Regions from separate parts of the Homo sapiens genome. Here region 2 is linked to region 1. The links are contacts of gene promoters, found by promoter capture Hi-C in blood cells and fetal thymus (Javierre and others, 2016). All regions are on one chromosome and are shown on one strand. Each heading gives the region's core, a stretch centred on a gene start or on the middle of the fragment in contact. The rest is flanking DNA. Distances are from core to core; before and after follow the strand shown. Region 1 holds the start of SUSD3 (sushi domain containing 3). Region 2 overlaps PHF2 (PHD finger protein 2).

The links. Contacts are between HindIII fragments. The CHiCAGO score rates a contact against its expected background, and 5 or more counts as called.
Region 2: a contact is called between a fragment that was not itself captured here and the fragment with the promoter of SUSD3 in region 1, in 1 of 17 cell types (fetal thymus). The highest score is 7.0, in fetal thymus.

Annotation. Positions count from the first base shown.
Region 1 is chr9:93,056,545-93,060,609 of GRCh38, reverse strand. It overlaps SUSD3 (sushi domain containing 3), which reads right to left and starts at 1,909. Exons shown (of 5, transcript NM_145006.4): 1 at 1,780-1,909. The coding sequence starts at 1,867. RefSeq lists enhancers at 1-833, 834-1,814 and silencers at 1,325-1,734, 1,745-2,194. The HindIII fragment of the contact is 6,174 bases long and covers 1,017-4,065 here.
Region 2 is chr9:93,580,030-93,584,094 of GRCh38, reverse strand. All of the region lies in intron 1 of PHF2 (PHD finger protein 2), which reads right to left. Among named protein-coding and RNA genes, the nearest start is that of PHF2, 5.5 kb to the right of the region's middle. The HindIII fragment of the contact is 1,546 bases long and covers 1,329-2,874 here.

The DNA of each region.
Region 1 (4,065 bases), core at 660-3,159:
ATCCGCCCACCTCAGCCTCCCAAAGTGTGGGATTAGAGGCATGAGCCACCACTCCTGGTCAGTGGTGTTTTAGTGTCAAATCCTCTCCAAAGGCTCCCAACCCCCCAGCCTCTAACTTCACAGCACATTTCACAGAGCAAGAAACTGAGGTCACATGGCAGGGGAGTGATGGAGTCCAGATGATGGCATCATCCCTGCACCAGAACAAGTACCCTCCCTGGGCTCCACTGGGCCTGTCCACAAGCTTGGGGGCAGGTATACAGTGGGGAAACTGGGGCACATGGGGAAACTGAGGCACAGAGGTACAGCGACTCACCCCAGGTCACAGGGGGGATCCTAACCCAAAACTCCAACAAGGGGGCCAGTGCCTGGGAAGTGGTCATGGTGGTCAGAGGCAGAGCCAGGGCCAGGCAGGATGAACAAGAGCACAGGGTGCCAGACTAAGCTCCATTCCCAGCACAAATTCCAAGGCAAACAGCCTTTTGTATGCAAATATGCCAGAGCCTCCAGATACTCCCTGGCCTTGGGCTGACCTTGGGCAAGTCAAGGCTATCCAAAGGGCACTGGCACCCACGCCCCCAGGCTGTTGTGCCAGTAGAAGGGGCTCCTCAGGTAGTACCAGGCCCTGGGCAGGCCTTGCTCAAACACAGGAGCAAAAGTGCTCATCACCCCAACACCAAATTAGGGACTCTGGACATTAGGCTGCCAGAGTCAAACTAAATAAACCAAATCCACCAGCGCCAGGAACAAGTCTCAGCGCCCACTTTGCTGAGCTGCGGACCTCTGCTCGGTGAATTAGCTCCCTGAGCCGCAGTTTCCCCAACTGTGAGAGGAAGCCATTCTCCTGCCACCTTCCTGCCAGTTCCCTGGGGCTGCAGGCTGACAGTGTGACCTGGTCCAGCCCACCCCACTCCGGGCCTCAGCTTCCTCCTGCGCAGAGCCTTAGCCCCGCAACGCCTGAGACGCCCAGAACCCTCAGGCCTAACGTTCGTGGGCAGTGGCCGCGGAAGTAAGCTTTTGGGATATCTGAGACCCAGAGTTCCGGTTTGGTTCCGTTTCTAAAAGGGTTAGACTTTAGAATCATTCAAGGAGCAAGGCCAGCATTCGAACCCCGGAGCCTTGGGCACGGGAGCAGACAACTCTTTAAGCACATTCTTGAATTCAAACACTTAAAAGTAAAATAAAAAGCAGCTTCTCTTCCTTCCAAAGGCCTCTGAGCCTCCTCCGAGACAGCCGAGGCGATCCCAAGCCTGGCTACAGGGTGACCTCGGACAGCCACTCCCCTCTCGCAGGCTCAGTTTCTCCATCTGTAAAGTGGAGCTGCGCTGGTCACCAAGGAATCGTGAAGATGACACCTCCCTCAGGCGCAGAGAGGGCTCCCGGCTCCCCCCTCCCGCCCCCGCGCCACCCGCCCGCCAGGTGAGGCCGGTTTCGACTTCCCCGGGAGGGGCGCGGAGGGGCCCGGAGCCTGCGGCGTGGAGAGGCTTGGCCGGCCGCGCTGTCCGCAGACGCCCGGGACCAAGGCGCTGCGGCCACTCGGGAACGGGCGCGCGGGCTGCTGCGTGCAGCCGCCTGGTTTCGAACTGCTCGCTGCCAGGCTTCGGCTCCGCTAGGGCGCCTGCTGGGCCGGCGGAGGGTCGAGGAGGTTCGTCCTCGGGGCAGATCGTTGCTGTGGCCCCCACCCACGGCTGTGCGGCCCCGCGACCCCCTCCCCTCGGCTTTCCCGTCTGTGAAATGGGCGCAGAGCCCCGCACGCGGCCACTCGGCCCCAGCCCTCACCTGTGCGGTTCCCTGGGGCAGGCGTGGTGACCCCGGCCCGCCCCCGGGGCCTCGCCTTGCCACGGAGGGTGGCGGCCGCCCAGCGCATCCTGCGCGCTCCGAGGCGCTTGGCGGGGTCTGCCAGGGGAGTGAGCCCGGCTTGTGGGGGCGGGGCCTGGGCCTGGGCCTGGGTGAGGGGCGGGGAGGCCCCGCCCTCCACGCCCGCCCAGGGGCGGTTCCATGCAACTTACAGACCACGCCCACACGTTGGACTGGGGCCGAGGTCCGGCCGGGGGCTGTGGGCGGGGGCCCTTGGGGAGACCAAATACCCAGCGGGCCAAGGCAGCCGGCTGAGCGGAAAGTGTTGCTACTCCGGGGCGTTGCACGCGTGGCTACCTCTGCCCAACACCCTTCCCCCATCCCTTCCTGTTCTCACCTTCACTCCTAGTGTGGTTTTTCCATGTGCTTCTGTGTTTTTATTTTTTGAGCAGGATTTTGCCTTCTCAGGGTGCCGGATTCGGCCGGTACCAAAGGGCAAACAGCAAAACGCCTCCCCGGCCCGCCCCTCCCGTAACCCACTCACCCCCAGAGTCCTGTGTGGACCCAGCCTTCTTTCCCTGTCTCTCACTGGGCCAGGCCGTCTGAGGCACACTGAGGTCTGGGTGCCCTTGTTGTCTTCGGTTCTCACTGAGGGGCCCCCGGCTGGGGGAAACAGGATGGAAAGCCCTGGGGTCTGTCTGCAGGGCCCACCACACCTGGAGGCCTCCCTTCTCCTGGCTTCCCCTTCCCACCCAGCTCCACTTGCAGCAGGCCCAGAGCTGTGATCCGGGCTCTTTCTCTCCCTCTGACCCCACCCAACCCAGGCTTAGCCCCCTGCCCAGGCAGCCACCAAAGGGTTGGGTGTGGTGTCAGGCCTCAGACATCCTGGATCTTGGGCTGCTTGTGGGAGACCACCTGAGCCATGCCTATTCCTGTGGAGCTGGCAAAGGCAATCCTGGCAGAGGGAACAGCAGGTGCAAAGGCCCTGGTTTGGCAATGTGTGGCAGCAGAAGCCCAGTGCGGCTGGCTTAGGCATGCCTCCAGGAGCGCAGAAGGTGGCCCAGGTGGGCCAGGCTGGCTCTAGAGTGCCTGGCAGGTGACCGTGAAGAGTGTGGATGTTCAGGTGGACCATGAAGCAGGGTTCCAGCAGGGCAGCCCCTCCCCGTCTCTGCTTTCCGAGCCCTCCAAAGCTGAGGTTCAGTGTGAAACGTGAGGGGCCCTCCCCCTTTCGCCATCAGGGTTGGCGTCACCCCTGATATGTTCTTCCCACTTGGACTTGTGGGTCACACACGATGGCTTACTTCAATCTCCTTTATTCAAAATCAAGCATGTGTATTCTTTCTGCCATGTCGGGAAGGGCAGGGCCATCAGCAGTGCCCACTCCAGACCACACTCTGGGACCCCAGAATGTCTTGCCAAGTGGCCCCTAGCCCACCTCTCAGGCCTGTGTGGTCCCTTCCCTGGTTTTGCCCACCATGCACCACCAGGCAGAAGGCCACTGCCTGTAGGTGCATGGACAGGGCTGGGAGGGAGGTCTGGGGCAGCCCTCCAATAGCTGGGTGGAGCTAGGTGGGGATGGAAAACACCAGGCTGCCTGCAGCTCCCTAAGCCACCACGCTGTGACCCAGGCCTTCAGGAGCCTTCAAATGCTAAACACCTGGCCATTTAGGAAGTGTGTTTCCTAGAGCTGTGTAACATAGTACCCCAGACTGGGTGCCTGAGAACAACAGAAATTTATTGTCTTATGGTTCAGGAGGCCAGAAGTCTGAGATCAGGGTGTCGGCAGGCCTGCAGTCCCTCCAAAAACTCCAGGAGAACAGCCTTCCTTGTATCATCCAGCTTCTGGCAGTTCCTTGGCCGGTGGCAACTTAACTCCTGTCTACACATGGTGCTCTCCCTGTGTCTCTCTGTGTTCAAATCTCTCTTCTAAGGACACCAGTCATATTAGATTAGAGCCCACCGTAATGTCCTCATCTTAACTTAAGACCCTATAAAGAGTCTGTAAAGACCGGCCAGGCTCAGTGGCTCACGCCTGTAATCCCAGCACATTGGGAGGCAGAGGCAGGTGGATCATAAGGTCAGGAGTTTGCGACCAGCCTGGCCAACATGGTGAAACCCTGTCTCTACTAAAAATACAAAAATTAGCTGGGCATGGTGGCGCGTGCCTGTAGTCCCAGTTACTTGGGAAGCTGAGGCAGGAGAATCACTTGAACCCGGGAGGCGGAGGTTGTGGTGAGCTGAGATTGTGCCACTGCACTCCAGCCTGGG
Region 2 (4,065 bases), core at 852-3,351, 520 kb before region 1:
GCACTTTGGGAGGCCAAGGCAGGAAGATCACCTGAGGTCGAGAGTTCGAGACCAGCCTGACCAACATGGAGAAACTCCATCTCTACTAAAAATGCAAAATTAGCCAGGCGTGGTGGTGCATGCCTGTAATCCCAGCTACTCAGGAGGCTGAGACAGGAGAATCACTTGAACCAGGGAGGCAGAGGTTGTGGTGAGCTGAGATCACGCCATTGTACTGCAGCCTGGGCAACAAGGGCAAAACTCCGTCTCAAAAAAAAAAAAAAAAAAAGAAAAGAAAAAAAAGGATACAGTATCTAGACTATATAAAGAACTCTTACACTTCAGCAATAAAAAGACAAGCAATCCAATGTAAAAGTGGGCAAAGGCCTTGAGTAGACATTTGTCCAAAGAAGATATACCAATGGCCAACAAGCATGTGAAAGCTGTTCAACATCATTGGTCAGTAGAGAAATGCTAGCCAAAAACATAAGGAAATCCCACTTTATACCCACTAGAATAGCTTTAATTTAAAAAAAAAAATTAGGAAAACAAGTGTTGGTGAGGATGTGGAGAAATTGGAACGTTGCTGAGGAGAATTTAAAATAATGTAGCCCCTGTGGAAAACAGTTTGCCAGTTACTCAAAAAGTTAAACATAGAGTTACCATATGATCCGGCAATTCCATTCCCAAGTATATATCCAAAAGAACTGAAAACAGGTGTTCAAACAAATATTTATACACAAATGTTTATAGCAGCACCATATACAACAGCCATAGGTGGAAAGAACCCAGATGCCCATACACTGATGAATGGATAAACTGTGGTCTATCCACACAATGAAATATTATTCAGCCATAAAAATCAATGAAACACAGACACATGATACAATGTGGATGAACCTCAAAAATATTGTGCTAAGTGAAAGAAGTCAGACACAAAAAGTTACATATTGTATGATTCTATTCGTATGAAATAGTAAATATCCAGAATAGACACACCTATAGAGACAGAAAGCAGACTGCTAGTTGTCAGGGGCTAGTGGGAGGAAGAAAGGGCAGTGACTACTTATTGGATACCGGGTTTACTTTAGGAGTGAGGAAGATGTTTGGGAACTAGATAAAGGTGGTGGTTGCTCAACACTATGAAGACACTAAATGCCACTCAACTTCACACTTTCAAATGGTTAATTTTATATGAATTTCACCTCAATTTTTAAAAAAGGTAAAAGGCTCGTTTCCCCATGTGCACATTTCTAGCTAAATATTTTCAATAAAAGCAAACATTCTGGCAATTAAGATGAGGCTCACACCAAATTGCTTCCTTCAAGACACGCCTCCTTTGGAAAGCTTTGATAGACAGGGACAGATACCACAAAGATTTTTCAGTTCCTATGCTTTGAGATCCAAACCACTGGCTAGAATTCTAAATATGTTCATATGTTCTTCTGTGAGTGACCCAGCACTATGGTGGCGGGGGGGTCCAGGAGAAAAGTAAACAGGTCCTGTACCCTAAAGCATAGAAGCCAAGTCCCATTCTGGACCTCACAGCTAGGGCCACCTACCTGCCACAGAGCCAAAAAGCTGAGAATCAAGGTTGGCAGAAGTTAGGGGACAGAGAAGGAGAGATGCAGAGAGGGAGGCACTACAGCGAGAGACCCTGAGAGACACTGGGTATATTCAGACCCAGGAGGGAGCTGCTGCAGTCAGCTGCTTGGACAGGGAAGCACCTCCCATCCCCTAGCTCAGTATGTGGCCTTCCTCTGTGACTACATTTCCGTCCGTGTTACACTGCTGAAACCATGGACACGAGCAGTTATCAGCCCCGGTATTTGCTCAGGCCCTTGAGCCAGAATAACCTAAGCCAGGTGCCACCTCCTCACCTGCACCCTCTGGGAGGTGAGTGTGTCCACCTGCTGCAGCTCAGAGTGCACCTGATGAAGCCAGAGACCTGTGTGTGACAGAGGCCCTAGCTGCTTCTGTGTCCATGCTGGGAATGAAGGTGACAGGGTGACCCACACTATCTGCCCCTCGCAGTCGACGTGGGAACCAAACATGATGAATGAAAAACCCCTATGGCATTAAACCCCGACTGAATGTTAGCTTCCGCAGCACAATCAGGCCCATCTGTTATTTAAAAAAACCAAGAGATGGACTTTGTTTTACCCACACCCTGAATTTCAAAAGTGAGATTCTCCCAGAGAACTGTGTCACGGAACACTATTTTCTGGCCCACACTTGCTCCCACCAGAAAAACTCACTCTTTTAGAAGGACCTGGCACATGTCGAGGCACTACAGGGACAGCCATAAAAGAGGATGCCTGGGGGTGGCAGCGTCCACCCAAATCTCTGCCCAGATTTTAGGGCATCTGTGGCCACATTTCACCCAAGCAGCCCCAAACAAACGTGGGCTGCAGTCCAGAAGTTCAGATCAAGCACACTTCCAGTCAAATATTAAGTATATTCAATAATAGCAAACGTTCTGACAATTAAGATGAAGCTCCTTGCTTCCTTCAAGACACACCTCCTTTGGAAAGCATCGACAGAGAGGGATGTCTACTTTACCCTCTAGAAGCTGGCCTGACATTCTTCCCACCTCCTCCAGAACTTTCAAAACTCACACAGGGGGAGAATTCCTTGTTTTAAAATGATTTATTCCTAAACACATCACAACAACATCTCCATGAGGAGAGCCCCTTCCCCCAGTACTCCCCGGCATTTGAGGTTCTAGGATTTAACTGTCAGTTCTGATCACCCAGATTTGACCCACGGCAGGACCTCCTTCCCTCTCGCACACACACTCCACTGGCCAACAACAGAGCTGGCCTGCAGCGCGAGGCCACAGCCCCGCCTGGTGTTCCCAGGTAGCCCCTGAACATGGCTCTGCCTCAAGAAGCTTAAGACTAGGTGGGCACAATGAGAGCCCAGAAAGGCCAACTCCATCCCTAGGGAGGTGGACACAGAGACAGGGCCCTGAGGAGGAGGGCAGGCTGAGCCCAGACAGACAGACGGACACAGAGGAATTGGAGGGAGCCATGCCAGGCAAGTCTTGTCCACTCTACCTTCTGAGCACTTCCAGAATGTGACCCTTCTACCGACCCCAGTCCTCACTCCCCACCCCCTGGGTACACAGGCAGGGTGACAGTCACCTCCTCACTGGCTCCCTGCCCCTAACCTTCTCCCAACCTCTCCCCACAGCAACATGCAACACGGGGGACAGTCAAAACCTCAGTCCACTCTCGCCCCTCCTCTGCTGAGACACTCCCCCTCCAGGGTGGCTGCCACCAATCTGAGAAGCTGCCTGGCTAACCCCTGGGCCCTCACAGCCAGCTCTGAACTCCGTACAGAATACAAGCCCAACAAATATTTACTGAGGTATGAATGAAATGTCTGTCACTTAAGTGACCTGAACAGCTTTCAATTTCTTTCAAGTCAGTTTTACTGATTACACCTCCAAAAACCCTTCCAGTCCAATAGAACAAGCAGCTGAAAGAGGGCCAGAAAGCTACATGTTAAGGATGTTTAAAACTTTAACAGAAGCATTCCTGCTTCCCAGAGATTTAAATTATTCAAAGTAAGTTGGTGACAAAGTGAGATGCCAGCTCACTTTGCAGGCAGGAGTGGAGGGCATGGGGCCTGGTCTCCATCCTCCAGTTGGAAGGCACAGGCACAAGGGAACACAGTGTACGGCCCAAGTGGCTTTATGTAAGAGTAGGATCCCTAAAAGGAGAGGACAGGTCCTCCTCAGTGCCGGTGCAGAGCGACACATCCCCACCAAATGAGGCAGACAAGACACCTCCGAAGGCAACCGGCCTCCAGCGGCCTCCTGCCAGGTCCTGCCACAAAAATCCATCCCTCCCAGGTCAAAGCCCACATTCTGGGACAGCACTCCAGTCGGTGCCAGTGAAGAAGGGCTGGGCTGGCGAGGATCCCCACCCCAGGAGTGATGAGCCACGGTCAAGATGGGGCCGGAGGAGGAATCTTGCGAGAACTTGGTGAAGGGACACACATCCCAAGGACAGAGGGGGGCTTCAAAGGAGGGCCTGTTTCCCCGACCTCTACTCCACACTTCCCCTCCAGTGAATGCAG